Regions from separate parts of the Homo sapiens genome. Here all the other regions are linked to region 4. Evidence: promoter capture Hi-C in 16 types of primary human blood cells and fetal thymus (Javierre and others, 2016). All regions are on one chromosome and are shown on one strand. The core of a region is centred on a gene start or on the middle of the fragment in contact, and the rest is flanking DNA. Distances in the headings are between cores, read along the strand shown. Region 1 overlaps LRIG1 (leucine rich repeats and immunoglobulin like domains 1). Region 2 overlaps LRIG1 (leucine rich repeats and immunoglobulin like domains 1). Region 3 overlaps LRIG1 (leucine rich repeats and immunoglobulin like domains 1). Region 4 holds the start of ARL6IP5 (ARF like GTPase 6 interacting protein 5). Region 5 overlaps LRIG1 (leucine rich repeats and immunoglobulin like domains 1). Region 6 overlaps SLC25A26 (solute carrier family 25 member 26). Region 7 overlaps SLC25A26 (solute carrier family 25 member 26).

Region 1 (2,906 bases), core at 206-2,705, 2.7 Mb before region 4:
GACTGCCTGAAGTTAATGAAGATGCAGGCTGTAGCTCTGTGGAGTCCGGGTGATACAACCTTGCTAAAGTCCAGGAAGAATCCCCTACAAGGAAAGAACGAACCTGTCAGACCCCCACTTGACCGTTTAAGCAGCTCCCAACCCACCTGTTAGAAGACAGTCAAAAGTTACCTTTCCCATCTAGAGATGCCATTGGCTTTTTCTTCACAGCCGTCAGCATTCTATCGTGGTTACTGGGGTAGAGCGACCCTTGGCACTCGGGGCAGGACCCAGCGGCAGTCCTGCTGCACTGGTGATGTGGAGAATGCTCTTGGTCACTCCCACCCGGCTCCGGGCCATTTGGCGCACTTGGCTGTGCGCTGTCTCTGGACACAGGCTGGGGGTGGAAGGCTTGTCCCCTGGAGTAACAGTCCACTTCGGTGTTGCAGTCACTGCATACGACCCGGCCACCGTGTTCTGAAGGACAGCGCCAAAGATGGGTTAGAGTCACTGCTGTGGGAGTCTTCGTCCCCACACAGAGGACAGGCTGCTCAGCTCCACTGTGCAAGGTGAGAACCCTGACTGCAAACACTGTATGCATGCTTCCTCTTTTCCCCAACTATGTCCCCAGAGAAAGGACTGGGCAAACACCAAGTCACTCATGAACTGTGGGGTCTTTCGTGTTTACAGTGAATTTCATAGACAATGTAGTCTTACTGCTTCACGGGGGAAAAGCCATTAGCCTTAGGTACCATGCAGTGTTGGGTCTTTTCAACAATTAGAAATAAGCCTCAAAATAGCCCTGGTGAAAAAGTGCTGACTGAAACTCTATACTTCGTTTGTGCCTTGCCCCTTATTTAAGTTGCTTATACATCTAGAAAATTCATGCTCAGGCTTACCATGGCGTAGATTTATTTAGGAGAAACTATCCTGGAATTAAGAGAGCCAGGCCTGAGCTTCCCCTGTATATACTGAATACCAAATTTGGAGACAGCTGTGGACTAGGAATGTGTCTCCCCCTTTGATGTAGTGACTAGGTCAGCCCAAATTTCCATTTCAGAAAGAAACTACTTCCAATGGGAAGCATCTCATACCCATCTTATGTGGCCCAGGTGTCCCTTCAGCTTTCTCCATCGCTTTCCACGGCTCTTTGTGATACGCAGACCCAGCACAGAGCTTTGGCTGCCTGCAGGCAACGCTGTGAGTGTCGGGCTCTGGAAAGTGGCTTGCATCTCTTGGACACACACCTGCAAGTGGATTCCAACACGATTAGAAACTCTGGGCTTGGTATTTCACAGTAAGCCTTATGAAAGGAATGAGCAAGGCCGCTAGAACAGTCATTTTTTTTAAAAAGTTCTTCAGAGCGGTGGGGCTGCTGGTCTGGCAAGCAGCGTGTTTTCTGCTACTACTTCCCAGCAGGCAGGCTGGCCTTGTGAAATGAGCAGCTGTCTCAGGGTGAGCCTCTACAGTCTCAGGCAAGTGCTCAGAGGCCCCCACCGTTGGAAGTACCTCATCCTGGTGACAGCTTTCCAGTGTAAGACTGGATCACAGAGCAGACCTGGGCACGTTCCCCATGTAAGGAATGGGTTGGCTGGGTTCATGCACCGTAATGCCCTTTCCAGCTGCTACTCCAGGCAAGCCTACTTTATCCTGCCAGGGAGATGCTAAGCCCAATCCAGTGGCTTCCTGAGGGGACAGGACTTTAAAACCTTGCAGAACTCATGAAGACTGGGTCCAAAATAGCAGCCCTTAGTCATACCGCCTTCTACTTCACCAAGTTTGCCCCATCTAATGCCAGGTACCTGCCCTGTAAAGACCTGGAGGCCACCTCCAGCACCCAGAGACACAGTCACAGCAGAGCTCTGCTTCACAGTTACTGAGGCCTTACCATTGCTCTCAATGTGCCCATTGGCCTGAGGGCCACCCTCGGTCCTGACCACGGTTTCTTGTCGGTCAGAAAGGGTCCCCTGAGAAGAGAGGTAGCTTGGAACATCTGGTGGCACGACGGTTTCATCTGCAAGGAGACAGAACAAATAGAACACCAGGGTCTCAGTGACAAGAAATGCAGACACACGTTCACTGTCAAGCTCAGAAAGGGGATCCTCCCAGTGACGACCATCAGCGCTGTGCAGAGAGATGACATGGAGTCCATGTACGCAACAGGCCCTCCCAGAGCCTGCTCAGCTTTACTCTACACCCAGCGTGAAGAGCGCAGCCAGCAGATGCCAGACGCCACAAGAAGTGGAGACCAGTGATGGAAAGCCGGGGCTCACAGAAGTACCGCACTGTTTCAGGAACAACCTACTACGTGGCAGCAGGGCCTGTGCATAGGCGGCCTCTGAGTTAGCAAGGAGAGGGAAAACTGCATGGTGCGTCAGTTACTTGTATTTGTGAGTATTCCTGTTTAAGGTTAAATTTGAGAGTATTCCTGTTTAAGGTTAAGTTCCTCAAAGTTAAAATGGAATTAGTGGGACTAAACCCTCAGGAGTTCTGAACACAGTGCAATTCTTTCAAAAGCCACTGGAACCCGGCCCAGTTCCCCAGCATCACTGCCATTCCTCCCTCCTTGAAAGTCAGCTCCGCTGGCAGGGCCTGACCTGTGTTGGTGACACTGTACTCTTCACTCTTCTTCCTGGTCTGGTAGATGATGCACACCCAGACCAGTGACGTCAGGACGATGCTGCTCACGACAGCAATGGTGAAGATGCCTACCGTGGTCCCATCCTTCCTGCAGCCTGCTGCGGGCAGGACGCTCAGCTGGCTGTGAGCTCGCTCCGTGCCCAGGGTGTTGGACATCTCACAGGTATATCGGCCCGCATCCTCTGCCACCACGTTCTGAACCACCAGGAGCTGGTTGTCAGGGGTCAAGTGGTGCCGCTCAGTGAGGCTCAGCGGGCGGTCCCCCTTGAACCAGGTGATGCGGGGCG
Region 2 (3,025 bases), core at 30-2,529, 2.6 Mb before region 4:
GCTTTTGGGCAGTTGTATCTCACAAAGTCAGTAATGAGTCACCAGTTATTTCCATTTCTGAAAATTTTACATAGACCATTATCTATGCAAATAAGGGAAACCTACAGTGACTCAAAATAGGAGATACTATATACATACAGCTATATATGGACCCAGACTCATTGCCTATTTTTACTCCTTAAAAATCAGCTATAATAATCAGTGTGGGCCTCTGAAGTCTAACGCCCGTGACGTTAACTGAGAGAAGAAACTCATGCCTACCTCTGTGATCCCATAAGGTCTTACATGTGCTTCTCGGCCTTACTAGTTCACACATGTCATCCTGGTCTGTAGCTAATTTGAGTACAAGTCTACATCTTTTCCCTCTAGCACCCAACAAATGTCAAATTTGACAAATATTTATTGTCTACAAGGTATACTGCACTGTGATAAACTGATAACAAATTAGGATAAGATCTAGTCTGTGACTTGAAGTGGTTTACAACCCACTGGTCAAGTTAAGACTCCTGGCCGGGTGTGGTGGTTCACGCCTATAAATCTCAGCACTTTCGGAGGCTAAAGTCGGGGAATCACTTTAGGCCTGGAATTTGAGACCAGCCTGGGCAACATAGTGAGACCCTGTCCCTACCAAAAAAAAAAAAAAAAAAAGAATACTGACCAAATAACACAGCCAAAGGCTCTGACACTTGCAAGCATTCTGTAATGGTAGATCAGTAGCTACAAATTGGTAGTTTGTGGGTACAAAGCTGGGCTGCAGGGAAACTTGCTTGTTTCTGACTGAACAGTGTTGGTAGAAACCTAAAGTTTTCACCAAAAACTAAAGTTTCAGCTTTTCTTGAAAATAATCGGAGGGCCAGCATTCCTAACAGAAACAATCAACTACATGCATTTACCAAGCATTCCAATGACCACAGACCTCACCACTCCTTATTGTCTCACCCATGCCCTCTTTATTCACCGGCAGTATCTTCCCAGCCCGAGATCTGAGTTTGTCATCCCTAGCATGGATAACATGAATGAAGGCCAGATGGCGTCCAGAGCAGGAAAGATCAGCTGTAATGAGAAACGTTTATTGAAAATGCAAGATTTCAGCTAAGCCTAGAAGAAGAGCATGTTTTTTTGAAGAGGAGTCCTGGGAAACGAGGCCAGAAAAGTAAAATAAGGAATGGAGGGCATGGAGTAAAATAAGCAAACAAAAAGGCCAAGAAGTCAGGACCTCCTAGAAAGGAAAGGGCAAGACACAAATGGTTTTACAGCAAAGTTGAGAAGAATAGCCCCATGCTGCCAGACCCACAACCCACCAGGCGGTTAAGTCAAGGGTTATATAAACCTTAGCAAACCCCAGTGCCAGGTCCCTCACGAACATTAATCTATGGGGCCATTAAAGTTGATTTCCATAAGAACAGAGTATCGCCTTGTTCATTTACTTAAAAGTTCTGAACTAGATAATCAAGAGGCCCAATTTGTTTTCTCACCATCACTGAAGGCAGTTAGCATTTGCTTTCTATACTACCCCTTAAAATGGGAGATTCTAGGATCTTTCCTACCAAAAATCTTAGTTTGGCCAAAAAGAAACAAAATAATTAGCTATAATGGGTTTTGTTTTGTTTTACTTTAAGCAGTCTCATCTTTAGTGCAGTTTAGTACTGAGGAAAGCCCACAAATTTCCCATAATAGTCTCTTGTTAATATGGTATGTGCATCATTAACCCCTAAAGATTAATTAATTTAATTAAGAAGAGGCGCTCCAACACACCAGCTCTGCAGTTGGTGGGGACTTTACAAGCAAAAGGAATTTGGGCAGGGAATAGCTGCTGCCAGAGGCTGACCCTCCCACAGACCTGCCACAAAGGGAATATCACCATGGCCACCCCAGCAGGCAAGAGGTGCCTACAGCCACCATTTGGCTTTGCTATTAGAGAAGTGCTTTGCAGAGGCTTGGAAATGGGGAGCGGGAAGAGATGGGTCAGAAGTCTGGTCATTCAGGATCGCCTATTCTCTACTTTATCATCTCCAAAAAGAAACACTAATTCACTAACTTTCACATAGTCCTTAAGCTCTACAGGACTTGGCAAACTCATCACCTGCACAATAGCCCCCCTATCCTCACCCCATCCAGTAACAGAGCTGAATCTTTACCTCCTGGGAGCCCAGTCATTCTGCAGAACAGAGGGGGGTTGGAACCTTGGAGCCAGGTGCTCCCTGCTCCCACTGAACTCTTCCCCGAGGTGCCCTGACAGCCTAGGGCCCCAGCCGCTGCAGGGAGAGCAAAGGCTCATCCATCCCAACCAGCAGGGACGGAGGGCATGGCGGGGATGAAGGGCGGCCAGAGGTAAAACCCAGAGGTTCTCTCAGTTAAAGGATGGCAGAGGGTTCTCATAAATGAAAACCACGCTCTACTGCGGCAGAAAACGGAGACTTTTGCTTCTGGAGTACTGAAAACAAGTCAGGCAAAAGGGACAGGAAATATGGGATGGGTAAAACTGAGAAAAAGGACACATTAACCTGGTGGATACATTTGGAATCCCAGGTTCACCAAGTGCTTTGTAAAGTCCACCAAAGCTTCTCTGGTCACGGATTACTGTTTTCCTTTCCTAAAACTTCCACCTTTACCCCTCCACATCCGCCCCTGGCCCCTGCTAAATGTCCACTTTCAGGAGACTGATTAGCTTCCTATGAAACCACCAATGCAAAATCCAGGGTGTTTCTGAAAATGTGATGCAGCTTTAAAATTCACTAACTTCGGGCCAGGCGTGGTGGCTCATGCCTGTAATCCCAGCACTTTGGGAGGCCAAGGCAGGCAGACCATGAGGTCAGGAGATCAAGACCATCCTGGCTAACACGATGAAATCCCATCTCTACTAAAAATACAAAAAATTAGCCTGGCGTGGTGGTGGGCGCCTGTAGTCCCAGCTGCTGGGGAGGCTGAGGCAGGAGAATGGCGAGAACCCGGGAGGCGGAGCGTGCAGTGAGCCGAGATCACACTACTGCACTCCAGCCTGGGTGACAGAGCAAGACTCTGTCTC
Region 3 (3,270 bases), core at 189-2,688, 2.6 Mb before region 4:
CAGGCAAACCAAAAATGGATCTGACACACACGCCTACCAACAAAGAAACACGCTCTTCAAGATCACATTCAAGACACCATGTATAGAGCACCAGCTGTACAGCCAGAACTACACTAGGTGCTTCAAGCCACCAAAGACCAATCGGCCTCCAGGAATTCAGAGACGTCAAAGGGAGGCCAGAAAGAAGGCAGTGCTAGTCTTACCGTATTTTCTTCTAAACATGTACACGCAGGTCTGAATTCTAACTGGCAAGTGCTAGACTCTAAACAAGTCATTCAACTACTCTGGGCCTCATGTATACAACAGAGACAATATTTTTCATAGAGTTAAGATGGTGATGATCAGTTAACACAGATATATCCTGCTGCAGAAAGGTACACTATTATTGCGACAGTTATAATAATAACATTATAGCTACCCTTCCTCAAGCTTCTGCTTGTGTGTTAGGCCCTGTGTTAAATATTTCATTTTTTTCCTTATAACAAGCTTAAGGAAGTCGGCACTACAATTATCCCCATTTTACAGAAAAGGAAACTGAAGTGGAGTAAATTGCCAAGGTCACCCAGGCAGCCAGGCCCCAGAGCTGCCTCTTAACCACCGTGCGTCATGAACCGCACAGCTGCTGCATCCCCACAACCATGGCCCCTCATAACCAGATGCCTGGAATGCAGGACTCTGAGAAGACAAGGACACAACATTATCTTCCCCTGAAGACCCTGAAATACTGCACTGCTCTGGGCTTTTCACTGGTTAGCAAGGCACCTGAACTTAAAGAGCTCAAGACAAACGCTTAAATTCTGATTCTCAAGTCACAATCGACTCAACTAATGATTCTGAATAGCTGATGTTTATGACTTTTTAAAAATGTCTCAAAACAAACGAAAAGGGTCACAATAAGTAAGTGTGGCTATCGTATTGTTTTCCATGTATGGACATGTCTATTTTAGGTATCACAGACTCACGTCCAATCACTCTGCCAATTTCACCTCAATGCTAGTATTTTAAACTCTGACTAGAATTTTCCAACTACACTGTAACTTTACGCTTTTGTGTTTCTTCTACATTTAAAAAGAATGCCATTTCCCAATATATAACTCCCAGATGTAGAATTCACAGATGATTCATCTCACAGAACAAGTGTTCTGAGACATCAGCTCCAAATAGAGGAAAAACTTGGAATTCCCTTCGCCCTCAAAGTAAAAACTTGCCTAGATCTGCTTTGCTCAACAAAGTTTGCTTTCAATTATATTTCCAAATTCTTCTAACAATAACTCCACGGCGTCTGGCACCAACACATCTGATTCTTTGAAGTGGTTCTCAAGCAGAAAGTAGAAAATAAGGAGAAATGGGAAAGGAAGAGAGGACTATCCATAATTTTTGTTTTAGGTCAAATATTCTCTCTAAAAGTTCTGACATATAAAATCAGACAAACCACAAGCTATGACTTCTCATTGAGGGGCCACACTGCAAGAAGCAACAGCAATTGAAGAAAGCCTCTGCATTTAGCCGCTGGCTCCAGAGGGGAAAACAGACCCTCAGCACAAAGAAAATGGCCTTTTACTCCTGATATTTAAATTCTAAAAACACTCCTATGAAGTCCTCCACACAGGCCAATCAGGAAAAATTACACTTCAGGGGTAAACCTCAGAACCCCTTAGAGAAACAATGAAACTGGGGGATCCGTTCTGCCCTGAAAGAATGTACCAAGCTCCAAGACAAAGTGGTAAGGCAATAAACAAATAATTATCAAGGGACTCCTAGGTACATGAAATTGAATGATCCCTGCTGCTTTCAAGTCTAAGTGGAGAGAAACACACACACACACATACACACATACAGGGATGTGTGAAGAGTTACCTAATCAGATAGACTCAGAGATTCCTCCGGGAAAGGACGAGATGTCAACAATAAATTCACCAGAACGAGACCAAGTGAGTAACAGGGAGAGTGTGTGACACTGACACACGAGGCTCGAAGAAGGGTGGGAACATCATTTGGCCTGTTTTGAGCTCAGAAAGCACAATGGAAAAAGGTCATCTTTGGTTCTTAAAGGGAGAATTTTTTTTGTAAAGTCTAGTTTTTTGGACACTCTATTCCTAAAGTAGTCCCTAATTGTTGTTAAACTTCTGTCAAGAAGTTCCAGACCACTAACTGTTCCTCCAACTTCATTGCATTTTAGTTGTATCCCCAAACAAAACTCCAAATTCCAAGAATTTGTTCCGGAAAACAATAATAAAAATAAAAATAAATTTTAAATCCGGAAGTTTCGTTTTATGAAAATTTACACGATAAAGAATGAGTGGAAGGAAAAGAAAAGCCCAAGAATTTCCACTGAAGGCACTAACAAATTCCACGTCGAAGAAAAGTGGACATCCAGAACAAAGAAAATAAAAGCTTCTAGATTCTCCATGAAAAGTATTTTAAGGAGTCCAATTACTGTCATAATTTTCAAGATTTTCAAAAACAGTGTAACTAAGAGGTAACCAATGCAAACCTAGGTAGATGGGTAAATTTAATATGAATTTGGCCAAAAACAGAGTCAGACTTCAAAATTAGAAAAAGCCACAGCCGGGCGTGGTGGCTCACATCTGTAATCCTAGCACTTTGGGACGCTGAGGTGGATGGATCACTTGAGGTCAGTCATGAGTTCAAAACCAGCCTGGCCAACATGGTAAAACCCTGTCTCTACTAAAAAAAAACAAAAAAAAAAAAATTAGCCTGGCTTGGTGGCAGGCGCCTGTAATCCCAGCTCTTTGGGAGGCTGAGGCAAGAGAATCACTTGAGCCAGGAAGGCAGAGGTTGCAGTCAGCTGAGATCACACCACTGCACGCCAACCTGGGCGACAGAGTGAGACTCTGCCTCAAAAAAGAAAAAGGAAGCCACTAGGCTGTACATGTTAATTGGCTGAGTTTCTATCTTGAAAGGGATACACGAAAGATCTCCCTGGTAAAAGGGATGGCAAGCTGGCCCAGAAAGAACAGGCAGTGCAGTGAGTAGCTGCCCTTCCTGTGGCCATGACTATAGAATGTGACAGGTGGCCCATCCAGTCCTTAAAGGCAGTTTCTCAGCATCATTTACAACTTCACTTATGGCAAGTATTCACTGAAGGACTGCCTGAGAAAGATGCTGCCTGCAGTGGCCCTGAGAAAGGACCCTTTGGGAAAACATGCCTGTAATTTATTTTCCTGGTTTTTTTTCTTTAAATTTTTACCTAAGTTCTTAAAATTCTAAATCAAAGATCGAAAGTGGATCTGTACCAGCCTCCACAGT
Region 4 (2,846 bases), core at 347-2,846:
GTTAGTAGATGTTTATAATGAAAGCATAGAAAACAAATCAGATTAAAGCACTATTAATAGCAAACAAGAATCGTGGGCTATCCTATTGCTAATAACAATAATAGTAACATATAACTGTGAACCTTTATTATACACTAAGCATTTCCTATACATTCCTTCACTTAGCCTCGTCTATATGGCAGATGTTCCATTATCCCCACTTTACACATGAAGACACCGAGGCTGGGAGAGATTAAGTAGTTTCTCCAAAGTCACCTGCCAGAGAGGAAGGAGCTGCGACTCTAATTTTGCTTTCTCTGACTTCACACCATCCCATTTTTCCAGAATCAAGAAAACATGAGCACTCAGGAATATTTTCACATTTTAAACTTTATTCAAAAAGCAGCACATAAGATATATCTTAGCACTAATTCCATGCAATCACCAAATTTTCCTAAACAACAGTAGTAGTAGTAATTTCTTAGAGTCGCTGTAAGCTCCTTAACTGTCTTCTGAATTAATAAGGAAAATTAAATTATGTTTTCTAGACTTTGCATTAGTATATTTCATTACTTTCCAAGTTTTCAAAAATTGGTGATCTGAGTAGAGTGAATTCACCTTGTCTAAGCCACTTAGGGGCTTAGAGACTCTGTTATCTTAGAAATCTTCACCTTAGAATTCTACCTATTACATTATACAATTAAACAAACTACTTTTTTTCTCATGCATTGTACCAATCAGCCCCTTAACTGAAAAAAGATGACCCTTGGAAGCTTAGAAGAGAATTGACAACGAATACTTCTTTTGCCAGGTCTTTGGGCTGGGATACAAAACATCACGTTATCTATGAATATATTGTGGTCCCTCAGTGAAAGCTGTCACCAAATATTGCAATAAAACTAAGAAAACTTTTGAAGTGGAATGCATATTTCTGCCCAGAAAATGCTGGATGCAGAACAACTAGTTCACTGCAGACAACTGTTTGCTTTAAAATGTAAGCAACATGCCCAGCTCAGGACTGAAGTGGCCAGAGTGCCTACTTTATCAGAATGGCATAGCAGTCCAACAATTTAGCCTAGAGAGAACAGAGGTGGAGAACAAAGAAGAGAAGTGAAAAAAACAGACCAGCCCTTCTGTTCTACATGACCTTCTTTCCCGTTTTGCCAATCTGATTTCACACATAGTGACTCATGGTGAAACAGAGAAAACATGGGAATTGCATTCAGATGTGTAGAGGTTAGTAAGACTTAGTTTTCAAAAGCAGCTCATTCTCCATTAACACTGTAGTCGCCTTCCATTTCATTTCACTTAGATTGGCATCTGCACAGCTGCCAAAATTTTTCTCTAAGTCAGAGAACACACTCCTAGGTAAACCTTCAAAAAAGGTATTTCGAAGGAGGCAGCTTCTCTGCTGCTAGAGAAGGCATTGCCACCTCCCTTCAGACAGGGGATTTCCGCTAGTTGCTTTCTGTCATTTCGTCTCTATTCTGCACTCAGTCCCTTGTTCTGTCTGGAGGTTCCTGTTTTCCTGTACCCAACCAAGAGCCAATGAAGAAGTAAAGAGGAGCAAACACGCCCGCCCACTCCCAATTTCCTTTGCTCTGCTGTCTGCCAACCGCAAAGCCGACCGAGACGGAGCCGCTGTCAACTCTCCAACTCAGCTCAGCTGATCGGTTGCCGCCGCCGCCGCCGCCAGATTCTGGAGGCGAAGAACGCAAAGCTGAGAACATGGACGTTAATATCGCCCCACTCCGCGCCTGGGACGATTTCTTCCCGGGTTCCGATCGCTTTGCCCGGCCGGACTTCAGGGACATTTCCAAATGGAACAACCGCGTAGTGAGCAACCTGCTCTATTACCAGACCAACTACCTGGTGGTGGCTGCCATGATGATTTCCATTGTGGGGTAAGTGGGGTCCCCCTACCCGGGACACCGATCCGGGGCGAGCACGGAGGGGCCTCGGGGTGCAAGATCCCGGGATGTAGAGACGCTCTCTGACCACGCTCAGCGCCTGCCCTGGCAATTCTGCAAGCGGCCAAGCCAGTGGAAACTTGTTTGCAGGGCGAGGCCGCAGTAACCTGGGGCCCCATTTTCTGCACCAAGGGCTGAGACTTGAGGGGGGCCCTAGGGGAAAGAGGACGGGGAAAATTTGCCAGCCGCAGGGAAGAAAAATGAGAGTTCCCCCACCCCCCTGCCCCCGCCCGCGTGCCAGGATCGGGCTCTTGCTGGAAAGATATTTGTAGCGCCCTCGTCTTTTAAAAATAAGAAGAAAAAGGAAAGTGGTGTAACCCTACCCTGGAGCTGGCTGGGGCGGCAGGGTGTGGACCCGGGCTAGTGTAAAAAGGGCAACCAAGTGGCGACGCACTTTGCTGCTTTCTCTGCCTAATGCCTGCCACACTGTACAGTAAAGCTGAGCTTGGGATCAAAAGGGGGGGTGTCTCCTGGTGGCGCATCTCCCATTGTGGGGTAAAGGCTGCCATGACTGTGGGAAGATGGCCTTCTGGCATTTTCTTCCAGCAGTGGCCAGGCGTGGTCACTTTCTCTGTCTTCGCTTCCTAGCCTGAGGTTTCAATGTATCAGAAGGCCTTTTCAATACCTGATACTTAACAAAGTATCCTGTGTTGAGACTGCATGTACACCTGCTTTCCTAGAAACCACCTTTCCTTCTAGTTCACCCTTTAAGAAATGCTTCTCTCGCTTATGCAGGATGGGTGGTGATATTCTCAATCTTGCTGATTATCTCCTACACATCTTTAAAGAAAAAGCCACCCTCAGACTTTATAAAGGACTCACTTGCACTTAAATGTCTGACATTTCTATTTCAGGGCAGACGTAGAGGGAAGAAGCAGCAAGCTGGCTTGGGAGAAA
Region 5 (3,004 bases), core at 272-2,771, 2.6 Mb before region 4:
TATCCATACTTTATTATTCCATTATATAAAACTCTAAATGAAAAAACTACAAATTTGGAGAACACATTAGAAGTCAACCAGGGGGGGCTAGGCATGGTGGGTCAAGCCTGTAATCCCAGCACTTTGGGAGGCCGAGGCAGGCAGATCACTTGAGGTCAGGAGTTTGAGACCAGCCTTCCCAACAGGGTGAAACCCCATCTCTACTAAAAACAAAAAACAAAAAACAAAAATACAAGAATTAGCCAGGTGTGGTGGTGCATACCTGTAATCCCAGGTATTTGGGAGGCTGAGGCAGAAGAATCACGTAAACCTGGAAGACTGAGGTTGCAGTGAGCCAAGGTCACACCACTGCACTCTAGCCTGGATGGCAGAGCAAGACTCTGTCTCAAAAAGAAAACAAAAGACAACCAAGGGTGTGAGGGCAAGAAGTAAATGACTGTGGCCATAAAGGGGAGAGATCCTTGCAATGATACAAATATTCTGCATTCTGACTGCATCGATGTCAATATCCTGGTTATGAAAAGCTGTACAAGATGTCACCATTGGGAGAAACTGGGTTTAAGGGTACGTGAGGGATCTCCCCATATTACTTTTTTTTTTTTTACAACTGCATGTGAATCAACAATTATCCCTAAGTATCATTAAAACAACAATACAAAAGTGTCATGGCATTCACGGTGGAATCAGATGGAAAGTCTGGGGGAGTTCCCAGTGGAATCAGCCTTCCTGCTACTTTACTAGTCTCCAGCCATCCTTCAAACCAGCAGAAACTTACACAGTATGACTGAGGTCTCAGAGCCAAGCACCAACTACCACTGGGCTCTGTGTGATTTCTGAAATGTAGGGATATGCATGAACTGTTTAATTACTTCCCATCATTTAGGAAAGGGCTGAGGGCTGGGACTCCTAGAGACAAGGGTGTTGCTGATAAAGCTGAGGACAGCTAGCGTGGCCCTTGCCTGGCATCAGGGGTTGTCATCCAGCCCTGTGTCTTCTTCCAGCACTACTTGGCCAAGGAAGACGTGCCAGACGTGCATGCCCAGAAAGTGGCAGACGCAGGTTGCCAGACACCACACTCCCAAAGCATCATCCTTCGTATACTGGCCTTGGGAGGTGTTCCATGGAAAGGGTGCTGGGTGCAGGCAAGCTCAGGAAGGGGCATTTCCTCCCCCGCCTCTTGCAGACTCCCTCAGCAGGTCAGCAAAGAAAAGCGGCTTAGGAGAGATGATAACAACACCTTTCACTCGGCTTGCTTTGGCATTTGCTAAACTTACATGACCACAAAATCCTTTTCATGAAACGACCATTAACATCCCACAGAACAAGTATTCCAGGTGGCTCACTACTCACTATCTGTGGGAAACACCACGTCTCTCCCCCTCATTTGAGGTCAAAAGACATACAACGCAGAGCCCGGGGGTCTGGTGCCAGCCTCCAAATGAAGCCAAACTGTGACAAGCCTGCACAGGAAGAACTGAAGAGGAGGGGGGAATATATGCCTGTGGTAGCGAAGTCTAAACTTCATGGATGTGCATTTAGAGACAGGGAAGCAGCACTCTCTACTGCCAGGGGAACGTGAGGAGTGGATTTTATCATTCTCTAGGTCAGCACCTCTCATGCTCCCAAAATCTCCCTTCCTACCTCTGAAAGAAAATGAAAACATAATAGAGCTATGATGAAATGATCTTAGGAAGATCTCTGCTTGTCCTTGGAGACTCAAAGGGAACATCAAGCACTAAAGGCTCTGAAATGTTCTGCAGGAAAGAAAGGTGCTCACCTTCAACTCTGGGTTTTCTGAACTTTCTGAACACAGAGCACTCTTTTCCCCCTCAATGCCATCTACTGGCACCTCTAGAATCCAGGCACTCCTTAATGTCATCTTTTACGCAGCCTGCTGCACCTCCCTCATTTTCCTTCCGTCTCTGCAGTGGGGAACGGGTGGCATCTCCCAGCATGGGCTGGACGCCTGCAGGGATCTGCAGTGACTCTCCACCTTCGCTTCACAGAAAGCCTTTCCCAAACCACCTGCTGGCCCCTCAAACAAGCGAGCAGAGACTGGGAGAGCCCTTTTTTGACACATCTGTGGTAAGGTAAGAGCAATTTCTCATCTAAGCAAACAGAGGCTTGAAAAGCTGCTGCTAGAACATGGCAGAACCAGGACTCAAACCCCAATAATGAGCCCTGGGGGCAAGCCCTGTCCACCTCTGGGCCAGGCGGCCTCTCACATGGCAGTTTCCACTAATACTTTTTCTCCCTTGACACCCTGCCTGCCTCTTCAGTAAATCCAGGCAAGCAAGACTTATCCCCTGGCTGGAGAGCCACGCCCTCCAGCACCCCTCAGCAGGCCACTTCTACTATAACGTGCCCAAGCCTGTCTCTCCACCTTGAATAAGTATCTAAAACAACCTAGTGTCTGCCCCATACCCCACAATCACTTATCCTTAAGATGACCCTTCCACTTGGTCCCTCAGAGTCATTCATCCATACATGGATGGGATGCCTGCTACATGCAGCTGCTGCAAGGAAAGACGGACGTGGCTACTGTGCCATCAGCCCCTCACCCCAGCCCCAGAGGAGACAGAGGGATGTCATAGGTGCAGTGGCAGAGGGGAACACAACATCATGGGGGGAGGAGGTCAGAAGAGGGGCGGCTATTCCAGATCAAGGTAGCAAAATGAAGCAGGTACAGGATCCAGAGACACACCCAGTGTGGGCTTTCCTTACGCACAATTTAGAGGTGGGAGAACAGGAAGAAATGGAGCCAGGGCCAACTCTGAAAGAGCTGGGACTTTGTCCCATAGAGGATGGGAAGCCACGAAGGGACCCTTCATTCATGTCTTCGTCAAATATTGATGAAGGTACTTCATTGGGTGGCTGGTGTGGAGTGGGGAGGGATGAGGGCTGCCTCAGAGCCACATCTGGATGCTTGGGAGCCAAGGCCTTGGGGAACCCCTGTAGAGATGAGATGCAGGGCCCAGATTTGGCACCGGACCCGAAGGGCCTG
Region 6 (3,018 bases), core at 477-2,976, 2.7 Mb before region 4:
TTTTTGTAGTGGTATCACTGAGTATCCTAAAGAATAATACAAATACTGTTAATGTAAAAAGTCAAGCTGATGTTTAAAAATTGCTTACTTTTAAACAATAGTTATTATGGTGAAACTCAACTAGGGTCTGTAGCTTAGTTAATAGTGTTGTACCAATCTCAGTCTTGTGCTTTGATCATTATACTATGGAAGCTGGGTGAAGGATATGTGGGAACTTTATTATTATTATTTTTTGAGATAGGGTCTTGCTCTGTCACCCAGGCTGGATTGCAGTGGTGTGATCGCTGATAACTGCAGCTTCAACCTCCCAGGCTCAAGCAATCCTGCTGCCTCAGCCTCCCTAGTAGCTGGGACTCAGGGGTGTGCCAACACGTCTGGCTAATTTTTAAATTTTTTTGTAGAGACAGGGTCTCCCTGTGTTGCTCAGGCTGGTCTCAAACTCCTGGGCTCAAGTGATCCTCCCACCTCAGACTCCAGCAAGTGCTAGGATTATAGGCACGAGCCGCTGCACTCGGTGGAATGTTCCTATTTTTGTAACTCTTCTGTAAATCTAAAATTATTTCAAAATAAGTGTCATACAACCTAGTAGACATGGTTTCTAATCAACCTGTATTAAGGAAGCTTTACTTAAGAAAAATTACCGAAGTGAAACTAAGAACATTTTTGACTTCTGTTCTCATTACTTAAACTTGATATTTCTCATTAATGTAACCATAGATTCATGTGAAAATTTCATTTATACTGTAATTCCAGCTACTTGGGAGGCTGGGGTGGGAGGATCACTTGAGATCAGGAGTTTGAGACTACCCTGGGCAAACATAGCAAGATGCTGCCTCAAAAAAATAAAATAAATTAGCCGGGCATGATGGCCCTTGCCCATAGTCCCAGTTACTCAGGAGGCTGAGGCGGGAAGATCGCTTGAGTGCAGAAGTTGGAGGCTGCAGTGGGCTGTGATCACTTCACTGCACTCCAGCCTGGGTAACAGAACAAGATCCTGTCTCTTAAGTTACTTACATTTGAACAGAAAAAGGAAATGGGACATTGAATTGGGATAAATAAGCAAACATCAGGGAAAATGTGGCCCCTTGCTTTTTAAATTCCTTATTGTTATTTTGGTATACAGCCTCCTCCGTGAGTTGAGACTCCAATACTGCTTCTTCACATTCGGGCCCCTTAATGCCCCTCTCCTCCCCTAATCATTTATCCGCCTTGACAGAAATGATCATTAGACCTCTGTGGCAATGAAATTACTTATTTAGGTTGAGAAATTATGGAAATTTAGAAAATTTTCGGCAGATTCTTAAAAAAAAAAAACTTTTGTAAACCCACATTATTTAAATTCATTGTATTAACTTCAAAATATTTAATAACGTGTGTATTATGATGTAGTTCGACTAGAAGTTGAGCTGTATATGATAGTGAGGAAACAGACTGCTATTTGCAGGACGAACCAGCCTCAGTTTTCCCATTTACTATCTATGTGACCTCAGGCAAATCTCCTAGAACTTGCCCCTCACCTGTTTTTGTGGAGAATAATATACTTCTCAACATTGAATGAGATTATACATGTAAAATCTTTAGCATAGTGCCTAGAGCATTGTAGGTAGTCAGTAAATCCCAACTAATATTGTCAATAGTAATAATTTATATTGTTACCTGTACTATATCCTACATTCCAGTCTAAAATTATGTGAATGTCATAATCAATACATAGTCTTCCTGTGAGTAATGTCTTCCAGCTAGAGTATTTTGTTTATTACAATTCTGTTGTCCCTCCAAATAGATGAGCAAATATGTAATTTCAAAATATTTCCATAATTTATGTATTTTTTACGAGTCACTTTCTGATTATTGTTGTTTTATGAGTTTAAGGTTGCACTCAAATGAATAATTTGTAAATAACACTCTTTTTAGATTGGTCTCAATATTACATTTCTGAAGTTCTGTATTCAGACAATTCCTCATTTAGAAAAATCATTTCAAACTCATTTAAGCAAGTTGTTGCAGACATTGACATAGTTTGTTCATTCACTTGGATATTTTAAGTCATTCCGGTAGAAATTGTGATTTGCGTGTGGAAGTAAAGTGTCTCATGAATGCTTATCTGTGTGTTACCAGGACAACTATATCCTATAGATCCAAACCCATGTGTTTTCATGCCCACACCAGAGTGTCCCATCCAGATCCCAGCTTTCCTACTCGCTGTTTAATCTGTGAGTTACTTAACATCTTTGAGCCTCATCTTTAGACAATTTTTTTCTTAGAGATGGGATCTCACTGTGTTAACTAGGCTAGTCTCAAACTCTTGGCCTCAAGTGATCCTCCCATCCGGGCCTCCCAAAGTGCTAGAATTACAGGCGTGAGCCACAATGTTTTTGTCTATAAAATGACAAGATAATAAAAATTACATGTAAGTCGGAAGATTCTGGAGAGAATTACATGAGCTGATGTATGTAAAGTGCTTCACACCTGGAATGTGGGAAGTTCTGTATGTTCTATGGAAGTGTGTATTGTGGTTGCTGTTACAGTCATTCTTTACGTCATGCTTTGTGTTTGCCACTGAAGTTTCTCACTTTAAACGTTTTGGGTCTTCTAGAGATTTTTTGTTTGTTTTAAGATATTTATTAGTATCCATGTCAAATACCAAATTATTTCTTTATGTGTTTTTTGTAGGCTCATTATTCTGGCCAGGTGATAGTGGAAAGTTAGACTTATCTGTGGAGATTCTGTTTTTAAATGTTGTCTTCAGCCATCTGAGTCTATTTGGATTGTGTTTTTTCGCCCCCTGGCAACCAATTTTTTTCTCCCTAGATTATAACAGGCACCTCTGTGAAGCTTTCTCTGTCACCTCACTTCTCTCTTGTATAATCCTCTTCTGCCCCCACCATACCTTCATCAAATATTAGACCTAGGGACTGTTACTTTTTCTTTTCTTGACTACAATACCTGACACCTAGTAAGTAGTTGTTGAATTTATGACTTGCATAACATTTTTGATTTCTTATCACATTCACATCT
Region 7 (3,011 bases), core at 342-2,841, 2.8 Mb before region 4:
CTTCTGCCTCAGCCTCCTGAGTAGCTGGGACTACAGGTGCCCACCACCAAGCCCAGCTAATTTTTTGTGTGTTTAGTAGAGACGGGGTTTCACCATGTTAGCTAGAATGCTCTTGATCTCCTGACTTCGTGATCCGCCCACCTCGGCCTCCCGAAGATTTTTTGTATTTTTAATAGAGACGAGGTTTCACCATGCTGGCCAGGCTGATCTTGAACTCCTGACCTCGTGATCCGCCTGCCTTGGCCTCCCAAAGTGCTGGGATTACAGGTGCAAGCCACCGTGCCCGGCCATGTGTGTGTTTTTAAAACTATTTTTTAAATTCCATTTCTTGTCTGGGCACGGTGGCTCACGCCTGTAATCCCAGCTTTGGGAAGCCGAGATGGGTGGATCACGAGGTCAGGAGTTCGAGACCAGCCTGACCAACATGGTGAAACCTCATCTTTAATAAAAATACAAAAATTAGCTGGGCATGGTGGCAGGCACCTGTAATCCCAGCTACTCAGGAGGCTGAGGCAGGAGAATAGCTTGAACCCGGGAGGCGGAGGTTGCAATGAGCCGTGATCGCACCATTGCACTGCAGCCTGGGTGGCAGAGCAAGACTCCGTCTTGGAAAATAAAAAAAAAATTTCTTAAAGAATTGGAGCCATCAAAGTTGGCAAGCATTAAGCATGCTAATTAGTTCAACATACTGACCAATTCTCTGAATTATTAGTTCAAAGAAGCATGTGGACAGGGATGAAATTAAATTTGGGAATTTTTCACTCTAGTTGTTTTAGGATACTCAGGTTTGCTTTGATCTGTAAATAACAGATGCTTTTCCATGCATGGTTTAGAGTACATCAAACATGTTCAAAACTTTATCTCAGATACTTAAAATCAAGTTATTTTATTTTCCTGATATACATGCATTTGCTTTATTTTTAAAAATAAACTGTCATAAAATAGTTGTAAGGCCATACATAAAATTTACTTTATTAATTGCTAAAATATATTGCTTATTTAAATAATCAGTTTTAAGAGTAAAAGCTTTGGCAACTATGAAAGCATAGGGAGTATGTGTTCATATGTGAATGTATTGTGTGTGTATGCATAGTATACTTTTAGGTATCTAAGTAGTGAAGATAAATGTCTGCTTTACTTTTATTAGCTAAATATTATATTTAACTTAATAATTATTTAATCACTAGAATGAAAATAAAACTTTGAACAGAAGCATTGTTTTTAACTTAAGTTTCATAGTTTACTACCTCTTTTGGCTCTTAACCATAATTTTAGTACTGGGAAGAATTTTTTTAACGAATGGCATAAAATGGATTGCAGATGGGATGAGAAAGGTGCAGGACCAAGAGGGTAAGAACTGAGAAGTCCTCGATTCTGTTTTCCACACTCCCTGAACAGAAGGCTTGACTGGCGTAGGCCCTGCTCCAACCTAGTGTAGGCTGCAGGAAGCCATGTGACAAGAGTCCAGATTGTTGTCCAATGGTGGAAGCCTCCCATTTATAAGTAATAATAAGAATAAGAATGTTTGGCATTGAGCGAGGTGCGGTGGCTCACGCCTGTAATCCCAGCACTTTGGGAGGCTGAGGCGGGTGGATCACCTGAGGTCAGAAGTTCAAAACCAGCCAGGCCAACATGATGAAACCCCTATCTCTATTAAAAATACAAAAAAAATAGCTGGGCATGGTTGTGGGTGCCTGTAATCCCAGCTATTCGGGAGGCTGAGGCAGGAGAATTGCTTGAATCCGGGAGGTGGAGGTTGCAGTGAGCCAAGATCGTGCCATTGCCCTCCAGCCTGGTCAACAACAGTGAAACTCCATCTCAAAAAAAAAAAAAAAAAAAAGAATGTCTGGCATTAATTCTAGAACTGAGATGCTCTTTTGCTTAGTAAAGTCATTTTTTCTTTTTGATCATTAAGCTACATGAGGTTTTGTAATGCATTCCATTTGTGGCTGTTCTTTATCAAAATATTACTATAACAGTAGCTTCCTTAGTACATCAGACATCAGGACACTGAAGGTCTAGTTGCAGTTTTGCCACTCGCTATCTTGTGCCTTTTGAAGTTGTTTAATCTCTCTGGGTATTGATTTCCTTTTTTAAAAAATAGTTGGTAAACTATGACCTGTGGGCCTAATCCAGATCACAGCCTGTTTTTGTAATAAAGCTTTATTGGCATGCAGCCACTTTCTTTCATTTATGTATTGTCTGTCTGCTTTCACACAACAGTGGCAGAGTTGAGTAGTTGTAACAGAGACTGTATGGACCATAAAGCCTAAGCTATTTATTATCTGACTCTTTACAGAAAAAGTTTTCTGAATCCTAGACTAGATCATCTTTGAGGGCTGTGCTGTGCCTTAGATTAGATTTCCTTTTTGTCAATTTCTCTTTAATTCTAAGTTCTCAAAAGATGTCTGTCTTTAAAGGATATAGCATATCATTTCCTCGTTATCAAATTTGCAAATTATGAAAAGAAGGAAAATACTGAGTAGATCATTGGTTCCCAAAGTACAGTCCCTCCACGAATAGCAGCTGCATTCCCTAGGAACTTGCTAGAAATGCAGAATCTAAGTCCCCACTTGAGATCTTCTGAATCAGAAACTTGGGGTGAGGCCCAGAATTTGTGTTATACACCCTCTGCATGATTCTGATGCATTCTGAAGTGTGAGAACCACTGGACTAGGTGATACAAAGTTCAGTTAACAGATTTTCTTCTGTTTTGAAAAAAAGAAGAGCTTAAATACCAAAACCATTTGATAGGTATATCAGGAGGAAAATGAAATGTTGGATATTATTACTAAGCTGGTGAAATTAATATTTTCTCTAGTAAAACTCCTTGTCATAAATTGTGGATAAGTTTTAATATAATGAGAAATTTCTGAGAGGTACATCTGTGTCACTTTCAGCATATTTTTAATGGACAGAAAAGTAAATATGATTTATTTCTTTGTGGGGTTTTCTTTTTTTGGTGGGAGATCACTTTGAATTATTTCAAAACTGATGATTTGTAATAAACA

Evidence for each region. Contacts are between HindIII fragments. The CHiCAGO score rates a contact against its expected background, and 5 or more counts as called.
Region 1: a fragment that was not itself captured here is called in contact with the fragment with the promoter of ARL6IP5 in region 4 in 1 of 17 cell types (total B cells); the score reaches 8.3 in total B cells.
Region 2: a fragment that was not itself captured here is called in contact with the fragment with the promoter of ARL6IP5 in region 4 in 1 of 17 cell types (non-activated CD4 T cells); the score reaches 7.4 in non-activated CD4 T cells.
Region 3: a contact is called between a fragment that was not itself captured here and the fragment with the promoter of ARL6IP5 in region 4, in 1 of 17 cell types (naive CD8 T cells). The highest score is 6.4, in naive CD8 T cells.
Region 5: a fragment that was not itself captured here is called in contact with the fragment with the promoter of ARL6IP5 in region 4 in 1 of 17 cell types (total B cells); the score reaches 5.9 in total B cells.
Region 6: a fragment that was not itself captured here is called in contact with the fragment with the promoter of ARL6IP5 in region 4 in 1 of 17 cell types (total CD8 T cells); the score reaches 5.6 in total CD8 T cells.
Region 7: a contact is called between a fragment that was not itself captured here and the fragment with the promoter of ARL6IP5 in region 4, in 6 of 17 cell types (total CD4 T cells, naive CD8 T cells, naive B cells and 3 more). The highest score is 13.1, in total CD4 T cells.

Annotation. Positions count from the first base shown.
Region 1 is chr3:66,380,406-66,383,311 of GRCh38, forward strand. It overlaps LRIG1 (leucine rich repeats and immunoglobulin like domains 1), which reads right to left. Exons shown (of 19, transcript NM_015541.3): 15 at 2,577-2,906; 16 at 1,868-1,993; 17 at 1,074-1,226; 18 at 172-456; 19 at 1-84. Among named protein-coding and RNA genes, the nearest start is that of LRIG1, 120 kb to the right of the region's middle. RefSeq lists enhancers at 2,290-2,791, 2,792-2,906. The HindIII fragment of the contact is 3,340 bases long and covers 1-2,906 here.
Region 2 is chr3:66,469,279-66,472,303 of GRCh38, forward strand. All of the region lies in intron 1 of LRIG1 (leucine rich repeats and immunoglobulin like domains 1), which reads right to left. Among named protein-coding and RNA genes, the nearest start is that of LRIG1, 30 kb to the right of the region's middle. The HindIII fragment of the contact is 2,560 bases long and covers 1-2,559 here.
Region 3 is chr3:66,485,775-66,489,044 of GRCh38, forward strand. The region is part of intron 1 of LRIG1 (leucine rich repeats and immunoglobulin like domains 1); the gene reads right to left. Among named protein-coding and RNA genes, the nearest start is that of LRIG1, 14 kb to the right of the region's middle. The HindIII fragment of the contact is 1,908 bases long and covers 485-2,392 here.
Region 4 is chr3:69,083,341-69,086,186 of GRCh38, forward strand. It overlaps ARL6IP5 (ARF like GTPase 6 interacting protein 5), which reads left to right and starts at 1,597. Exons shown (of 3, transcript NM_006407.4): 1 at 1,597-1,883. The coding sequence starts at 1,708. RefSeq lists an enhancer at 1,368-1,677. The HindIII fragment of the contact is 15,418 bases long and covers 751-2,846 here.
Region 5 is chr3:66,435,192-66,438,195 of GRCh38, forward strand. All of the region lies in intron 3 of LRIG1 (leucine rich repeats and immunoglobulin like domains 1), which reads right to left. Among named protein-coding and RNA genes, the nearest start is that of LRIG1, 64 kb to the right of the region's middle. RefSeq lists enhancers at 524-1,114, 1,115-1,704. The HindIII fragment of the contact is 5,612 bases long and covers 1-3,004 here.
Region 6 is chr3:66,356,413-66,359,430 of GRCh38, forward strand. The region is part of intron 6 of SLC25A26 (solute carrier family 25 member 26); the gene reads left to right. Among named protein-coding and RNA genes, the nearest start is that of SLC25A26, 140 kb to the left of the region's middle. The HindIII fragment of the contact is 2,214 bases long and covers 620-2,833 here.
Region 7 is chr3:66,295,509-66,298,519 of GRCh38, forward strand. All of the region lies in intron 5 of SLC25A26 (solute carrier family 25 member 26), which reads left to right. Among named protein-coding and RNA genes, the nearest start is that of SLC25A26, 76 kb to the left of the region's middle. The HindIII fragment of the contact is 1,135 bases long and covers 1,025-2,159 here.